Regions from separate parts of the Homo sapiens genome. Here regions 2 and 3 are each linked to region 1. The links are contacts of gene promoters, found by promoter capture Hi-C in blood cells and fetal thymus (Javierre and others, 2016). All regions are on one chromosome and are shown on one strand. The core of a region is centred on a gene start or on the middle of the fragment in contact, and the rest is flanking DNA. Distances in the headings are between cores, read along the strand shown.

Region 1 (2,901 bases), core at 147-2,646:
TGCACTCCAGCCTGGGCGACAGAACGAGGCTCCGTCCCCCAAAAAAGAACTGAAGCATTTAGAATCATAGTGGCAGTGGTGGTGGTGGTGATGGTGATGGTGATGGTGATAATGATGGTGATGGGATGGTGACGGTCATGGTGATTTTGGTAGTGGGAGTATTGGTGTGGCATTTCAGCAAATGTTGTTTTCATTTGTTTTAACCATCAGCCAAGGAACAAAGCAATCTGTCTCTTCAATATAGTTACACAGGTGACTAAGTGTCACCCGCTTCCACCTTCTCTAATCAAGGAAATGGTGACGATCAGGTTACTATAGATTCCTTATAAGGTGCCTTCATAATGGATAACTGTAGCCATTTTATGTAAGCATTGTCCTGTGATTAAAAAAAAAAAAAGATTCCAGTATGCTTTTGAAAAATGTGGGTGGGGGAGAGAGTTTTAATATGCTGCATTCAAGATTTGACCTATGGATTTAGATTCTAGCAATTCATGAGGTTGTCTTAATCTAAAGCTTTCTGGTGATAGATGTTTGAGAAGCTAGGATTATATTAACTAGTCATGTTGAAACTACAGATTTAACTTTAAAAAATTATTTTAAACTTACTATAATACCCATATTCCAATACACATTATTAATGTTAGCTATCATCTCACCATTTCCTTTTTTACTTATTTTCAATTTTTTTTGAAAATAAGTAGTTGACCTTTCTCTTTGAATCTTTACATCATTCAATCCCAAGATTCCTTATTGCATACTAATTTCCTGCCGCCAAGAAATCTCTGTTTCATGCCCTAAGCCAGAGTATGCCCATTTGCAGTGATTATGTTTCTCATAATCCAATTCATATTGTCCTTATTTAAAATGTACAATGTCTAGTCTCAACCTCATACCTGCAAAGATATCACAATATTTTTGTTAGCATGTTCCTTACCACAGTTCTTGGATTTCTACCAAAACAAAGTTTCTACAAAACTTCCTGTGGTCATCCTTCTTAGCCTTTGCTGCCCCAGTTTCCTTAATTCTTATTAAAGTTCTAGCTCATTTATCAGTGGATTAAGCAATGAACGGTAATTAACATTGTGGACCCATTCAAGGCTGTTTTGCCATCATTTTTTGGAATACCTTAAAAAGACTAAACTTTGTGATAGGCTGTATAAGAATGCAAAGGTAAAGAAATGCAGATGGGAGTGTAAGTGAAAACATGCAGTACTGACCTTCCTGATTGCTCATTACAGGAGACCAAGACACATTCCACCCCAGTGGGGGGTCCCATACCACTCATGGATCTGAATCAGATGGTGAGTTCAAAACTGCTTTAGTCATTTACTGTTATAATCATTGAGCCTAATGATGACTACCAACGAAGTATGAGTCAGTGTCTCCAGAGAAGTGGTTCTCAAACCTTCTTAGCATACATCACAATTGCAGGGAGGGCTTATTAAACCACAATGCTGGACCCCACCCTTAAGGTTCCTGATTCAGTAGGTCTGGGGTGGAGCCCAAGCATTTGCATTTCTAATCAGTTCCCTGGTAATACTGACACTGCTGGGACAGGGATTGCACTTTGAGAGCTACTGCTCTGGAGGAAAGCCTTGCATCTGAAAGCCTCAGGAAGAATTCAAGCAGTGTCCCAATTTAACCTTGCACTACACCAGAGTGATTAAGAGCTTGAGCTTTGTAGCAAAAATGGCCTGAGTTCGATTCCAGCCCTCCGCATATTAACTGAGCAAGATGCTTTAAAGGGTCTGAGACAACATTTCTCAACTAATAAACTTGGAATAATAACAATTGTCACAGGACATTGTTTCAAAGACTAAATGATAGAATACATGTAAAGCATTTAGCATAATCCTGGCACATGATATCATCACTGGTATTTGTTGGGAATTTACTGTGTGCCAGCAGCATCTTTCTAAACACTTTACATGTATTAGGTTGGGCCAAATGGAACTGCCATTATTGTAGGTCAAGAACAGGTCAATATCGGCCAGGCACGGTGGCTCACACCTGTAATCCCAGCACTTTAGGAGGCCGAGGCAGGTGGATCACGAGGTCAGGAGTTCGAGACCAGCCTGGCCAACCCTGTCTCTACTAAAAATACAAAAATTAGCCGGGCGTGGTCCTGCGCACCTGTAATCCCAGCTACTCAGGAGGCTGAGGCAGGAGAATTGCTCGGACCTGGCAGGCAGAGTTTGCAGTGAGCCAAGATTGCACCACTGCACTCCAGCCTGGGTGACAGAGCAAGACTCTGTCTCAAAAAAAACCAAAAAACAAAAAACAAAAAAACAGGTTAATATCAGCAAATTCATAGAGTTTATCTAGTATGAACTCATTCAGTCATCCTATAAACTCTGTGACATAGGTAAGTACTATTATTATCCCCATGTTACAGATGAGGAAACTAAGGCTCAGAGAAGGTAAGTAACTTGGCAGAGTTGACAGGACCAGAGAGTGATGGAGCCACCTTTCAAGCCTGGAGGGCCTTGTATTACTTCTCATAGCACAGTCTGGAGAAGGCATTCCATAATGACCATAATTACTCCCAGGCATGAATTCTTAAATAGACTCCTGTTTGTTGTGATTCAGATCACACCCCTACAAACCTTACCCCAGACTGCAAAAGTCTGACATGAGGTAGGTTTACTAATTACTTCTACTGCTGGGCTACTGGGAGGTTCTGCCAGTGCTGCCTTACTGTGGTCTCCCTGAACATCATAAATCCAGGTGACCCCATGTAAATGATTTAAGCCATATCAATTATTGTCTCCCCTTTTTATGCCCAAGTTTGAGTGAGGCTCACCATCAGATTTAAATGTTTACACATTGAAAACAAATATGAAGATGGATATTTACATGGTGGCTTCCACAATAACTCTCTATGGAGGAGCACTAGGAGGT
Region 2 (2,901 bases), core at 278-2,777, 250 kb before region 1:
ACAACATTGTAAGGATAAAGTCCAGAAGCCTTTGCAGATTAAATGTGGAGTGTAGGCCAGAGTAGCAACAAGTAAGGGAATGAATTTGGATCTGGTCTAGGTGATGATAGTTTGGTCTCCATAAATAGAAATAATGGATTTGGGAAGCATTTGTTTTGGTGGAGTTAGTAATGTTTGAAGCTTATTGTCAGGACTTAGAAGCCATGTAGGTATTGGGATCAATGAGATGAAGATGTATCTCAGGAGATAGTTGGGGATTAGAGAGGTAGATTTGGTAGATAATAAAGCAATAGTTATAATTGAGATCATCAATAGGGAAACTAGAGGTTAAAATCCTTGAGTTGGAGGATACCTGGGAAATGTGGGAAAAGTCAAGGATGGTAGGATCTAAGAAAAGCCTCTTAAATTTGGTAATATGGTGTTCAGTAGTGTGACAGCAGTAAAATAAAGAAATAAAGGTTTCTTCCTTCCTTTTCTTTCCATGTGTGCTTAATACATATATGATGCGCAAATATCTTTTTTTAAACCTGAGTTGAAAGTTATAATATTAATGAAACATTTCTTAAGAACAAAATGGTATTATCTCCTGAATACCATAAGGAAGCAGTATTAAAGAGTTAGGCTTTTAGTATTATTGCCATCTTTTCTACCCTGTTACCCTTTTCTCTTCCCTGCCTTTATTCCTTAACTCTCCACGAGAAAGGCATCAGCCTTTGGTCTTCAAAATAAGAACTAGTACAAAAGATTTCATGAGAAAAATGGATCCTGAAAGCATATATTATTGAGGATTTTTGCTTTTCTATACTGCTAAAAATGCCTGCATTTTAAGTTTATCATTAAGGTGAGCTTTGGAAAAAATTTTAGCCTAATGTCGTCTTCTGCTATGGTTGAAAAATTGCAGGCTTTGGCATAGCTGTCCCCAAAATATCTTAGCACACTTTTTTATTTTTTAACGTTTTGAATTTTTTTTTCTTTAAGAGAGAGACAGGCTCTCACTCTGTCACCCAGGTTGGGGTGCTGTGGTGTATTCATAGCTCACTGCAGCTTTGAACTCCTAGGCTGAAGTGGTCCTATCACCTCAACCTCCCAAATAGTTGGGACTACAGGTGTGCCACCATGCCTGGCTAAATTTTTAAAACAGTTTTGTAGAGACGGTTTCTCACTAGGTTGCCCAGGCTGGTCTCAAGCTCTTGGCCTCAGGTGACCCTCCCACCTCAGCCTCTCGAAGTGCTGGGAATGCAGACGTGAGCCACTGTGCCCAGCCAACACACGTTCTTGACACGGTGAGGACATGCTCCATACCATGTCCACTAAAAGTCTGGGTAGAAAAATCAGTTCCAAATGCTGAAGGAAATGCCTCCAGCCCACTGTATTTGTGAAGAAAATCTTGGGTATCAGGGCTGCTATTTTAATTTTGCCTTAAAACAAGCATTGCTCAGAATACATGTTGTACCAAAGAATATAGACTTGACTTTGCTTGTACATGTGACTGTTTTAAGAAAGCAGTGTCGAGGCCACAATTAGAAGCAGAACACATTTAGTTTCTTTGCCTGCAGCCCCAATGTCTTTGGTACATCTGTGTCCTAAATCATAGTTGTAGTAATGTTTGTATTCATCACACAGCATCAAAAATTAGGTAAGTATGACAGGCAAGTGCCTAGTGTGTTTTAGTGGTATTTTCAAAATGAATTCATGTCACACCCAAATGAATTGCTCTCTCAGGGAACCCAGTAGAGAAGGTTGTACCTGAGTTAACTTCCAGAGCATCCTCTGCCTATCTGCCTATTTCTGCCAGTGGCCAGAATGAATTTGTGTGGTATATTTTTCTCCTAATTTTTATAGCTTTTAATGTCTACCTAATGCTCCAAGTTTAGTCTGATTATTTAATGTGCAGAAATCATTAAAACCATTTTCTGCCTCACAAAAAACTAAATCATTGGCTGTTACTAAACAATAATTAAGATTTATACTTCATAGGTATGTAAGTATAAAATCAGCAATAAAAAGACCAGGTGCAGTGACTCACACCTGTAATCCCAGTGCTTTGGGAGACCAAGGCTGGCGAATCACTTGAGGCCAGGAGTTTGAGACCAGTCTGGCCAACATGGTAAAACCCCATCTCTACTAAAAATATAAAAATTAGCCAGGCGTGGTGATGCACACCTGTAATCTCAGCTACTAAAGAGGCTGAGGCATGAGAATCTCTTGAACCCTGGAGGCGGTGGTTGCAGTGAGCTGAGATCGCGCCACTGCACTCCAGCCTGGGTGACAGAGTGAGACTCTTTAAAAAATAAAAAAAAAATAAAATCAGCAATACAAGTTTTTGTGAGCAAGAAGAAGCAATTTTGTTCTTGCTTCTTTATGATTAACCTACCCAAGAACCTTAATTACTACAGAGATAAAACTAAACTGCTTTTTAAAAAATAAAGTAGCAGTAATAGTTATGCTAAATATGTAATATTAGCATAACTAATATTAGCTATTAGCATAACTAATATTAGCTATTAGCATAACTAATATTAGCTAGCTATTAGCATATTATTAGCATAACTAAATATTACATATTACTAAATATGCTAATAAGTAATAGTTATGCTAAAAATGTGTCAATTTAGTGTCAGCAACCTTTTTTTTAAATAGATGTATTCGGGCATTAACGATACAGATTTTTGCACCCCAGTTAGACTGTTCCTGCTTGTGTTGATATTCTATTATTGCATAACAAGTTACAGTAAACTTACCAGCTTAAAATAATACCTGTTTGTTTTCTAACAGTTCAATAGGTTAGAAGTCCTGGCATAGCATGGCCAGGTTCTGAACTCATGGTCTCACAAGGCTGAAATCAAAGTGTTGGCCAAGGCTGGGGACTCATGTGAAGCTTGGGGTCCTCTTCCAAGCTCA
Region 3 (2,901 bases), core at 257-2,756, 230 kb before region 1:
TGCTAGCAAGACTAATAAAGAAGAAAAGAGAGAAGAATCAAATAGACGCAATAAAAAATGATAAAGGCGATATCACCACCGATCCCACAGAAATGCAAACTACCGTCAGAGAATACTATAAACACCTCTACGTAAATAAACCAGAAAATCTAGAAGAAATGGATAAATTCCTCGACACATACACCCTCCCAAGACTAAACCAGGAAGAACTTGAATCTCTGAATAAACCAATAACAGGCTCTGAAATTGAGGCAATAATTAATAGCTTACCAACTAAAAAAAGTCCAGGACCAGATGGATTCACAGCCGAATTCTACCAGAGGTACAAGGAGGAGCTGTTACCATTCCTTCTGAAACTATTCCAATCAATAGAAAAAGAGGGAATCCTCCCTAACTCATTTTATGAGGCCAGCATCATCCTGATACCAAAGCCGGGCAGAGACACAACAAAAAAAGAGAATTTTAGACCAATATCCCTGATGAACATCGATGCAAACATCCTCAATAACATACTGGCAAACCAAATCCAGCAGCACATCAAAAAGCTTATCCACCACGACGAAGTTGGCTTCATCCCTGGGATGCAAGGGTGGTTCAACATACGAAAATCAATAAACTTAATCCCGCATGTAAACAGAACCAAAGACAAAAACCACATGGTTATCTCAGTAGATGCAGAAAAGGCCTTTGACAAAATTCAACAACACTTCATGCTAAAAACTCTCAATAAATTAGGTATTGATGGGACGTATCTCAAAATAATAAGACCTATTTTTGACAAACCCACAGCTGATATCATACTGAATAGGCAAAAACTGGAAGCATTGCCTTTGAAAACTGGCACAAGGCAGAGATGCTCTCTCTCACCACTCCTATTCAACATAGTGTTGGAAGTTCTGGCGAGGGCAATCAGGCAGGAGAAAGAAATAAAGGGTATTCAATTAGGAAAAGAAGAAGTCAAATTGTCCCTGTTTGCAGATGACATGATTGTATATCTAGAAAACCCCATTGTCTCAGCCCAAAATCTCCTTAAGCTGATAGGCAACTTCAGCAAAGTCTCAGAATACACAATCAATGTGCAAAAATCACAATCATTCTTATACACCAATAACAGACAAACAGAGAGCCAAATCATGAGTGAACTCCCATTCACAATTGCTTCAAAGAGAATAAAATACCTAGGAATCCAACTTACAAGGGAGGTGAAGGACTTCTTCAAGGAGAACTACAAACCACTGCTCGATGAAATAAAAGAGAATACAAACAAATGGAAGAACATTCCATGGTCATGGGTAGGAAGAATCGATATTGTGAAAATGGCTATACTGCCCAAGGTAATTTATAGATTCAATGCCATCCCCATCAAGCTACCAATGAGTTTCTTCAAAGAATTGGAAAAAACTATTTTAAAGTTCATATGGAACCAAAAAAGAACCCGCATTGCCAAGTCAATCCTAAGCCAAAAGAACAAAGCTGGAGGCATCACGCTACCTGACTTCAAACTATAGTACAAGGCTACAGTAACCAAAACAGCATGGTACTGGTACCAAAACAGAGATATAGACCAATGGAACAGATATCTCTTTTAAATAGGGATGTCATGTATTGAGGGCCTGCTGATATATATCCCAGAGCTGGGCTAGAAAGTAAGGAATAATGTGATCTAATATTATTACCTGTTTCCACTCTCCTCCTCCCCTCAAGATCATGTTCGTTATCATATGAGGTAGGAAGTACAACAGACATTAAATAACTTCTTGCAATCAGGAAAGAAAGCCCTTTTTCCCCACCATGATATAAAGGATCAAAACATGTACCTCATCAGAATTTCTTCAAACTTGCTTCAAAAAGGTGGTATGTTTAATTATTCTTGGCAAACATAAAAGATAATTGACACAGAACTCCATACCATTTTTTCAAACGAAATTTTTATTTATTTTCTCTTATCTAGCTATGTTCACTTTGGAAAATGCACAATGATTTTATTTTTCTGTAACCGCCTTGGTCTAAAGCTGCTTTTTTAGTAACATTTTTCTTTTTCTATTTCTAGCAAATGCCAGATGTTAATGTAAGCTGGGATGGAGAGGGCCCAAAGCAACTGCCATTTATTGACATTTCAGTGGCTGTGGCAACAGATAAAGGCTTACTTACTCCAATCATAAAAGATGCTGCTGCTAAAGGTATCCAGGAAATTGCTGACTCTGTAAAGGTATGTCTTAAGAAAGAGTGTGCTTTCAAAATGTTAGCATATACTTTTGGATAATTACTTTCTGATAAAGTTGTGACGTAATCTAGTCAGACTGTGATTTTTGTGTGTGTGAAGGGGAGAGTTATTTCATCAAGTGATTGTCACATATATATAGGTTTTTAAAGTTTTTATCCAAGTATGACCCATTGTAAGAAAATTTAATATTCAAAAATTAAGAGATAATATATAAACAAATTAGGGAACAACTTCATGCTAAAGACAAGCTTTATTTTCCAAAGTCCAGAATTCAGCCATAAAGATGCTATATCAGGTAGGTTTTAAAGTTGAAGTTAAGCTGAAACTGTATTTCTATGGACCTCAATATTAATAACATTTTATTCTTAAAGTGTATTTACTTCTTCTCTAAAATTGAGACCATTAAAAGAACTTAGCGGCCAGGCGCGGTGTCTCACGCCTGTAATGCCAGCGCTTTGGGAGGCCGAGGTGGGTGGATCCCGAGGTCAGGAGATTGAGACCAACCTGGCCAACGTGGTGTAACCCCATCTCTACTAAAAATACGAAAATTAGCTGAGTGTGGTGGCGCGTGCCTGTAATTCCAGCTACTCGGGAGGCTGAGGAACAAGAATCACTTGAACCCAGGAGGCAGAGGTTGCAGTGAGCCGAGATTGCGCCACCGTACTCCAGCCTGGCAA

The links. Contacts are between HindIII fragments. The CHiCAGO score rates a contact against its expected background, and 5 or more counts as called.
Region 2: a fragment that was not itself captured here is called in contact with the fragment with the promoter of CD44-AS1 in region 1 in 1 of 17 cell types (activated CD4 T cells); the score reaches 5.6 in activated CD4 T cells.
Region 3: a contact is called between a fragment that was not itself captured here and the fragment with the promoter of CD44-AS1 in region 1, in 1 of 17 cell types (activated CD4 T cells). The highest score is 5.4, in activated CD4 T cells.

What each region holds. Positions count from the first base shown.
Region 1 is chr11:35,213,614-35,216,514 of GRCh38, forward strand. CD44-AS1 (CD44 antisense RNA 1) reads right to left here and starts at 1,397. Exons shown (of 2, transcript NR_174965.1): 1 at 1,218-1,397. CD44 (CD44 molecule (IN blood group)) reads left to right here. Exons shown (of 18, transcript NM_000610.4): 15 at 1,239-1,301. RefSeq lists an enhancer at 627-1,826. The HindIII fragment of the contact is 2,794 bases long and covers 512-2,901 here.
Region 2 is chr11:34,962,316-34,965,216 of GRCh38, forward strand. All of the region lies in intron 5 of PDHX (pyruvate dehydrogenase complex component X), which reads left to right. Among named protein-coding and RNA genes, the nearest start is that of MIR1343, 22 kb to the left of the region's middle. The HindIII fragment of the contact is 2,698 bases long and covers 179-2,876 here.
Region 3 is chr11:34,982,520-34,985,420 of GRCh38, forward strand. PDHX (pyruvate dehydrogenase complex component X) reads left to right here. Exons shown (of 11, transcript NM_003477.3): 9 at 2,051-2,209. Among named protein-coding and RNA genes, the nearest start is that of MIR1343, 42 kb to the left of the region's middle. The HindIII fragment of the contact is 1,927 bases long and covers 544-2,470 here.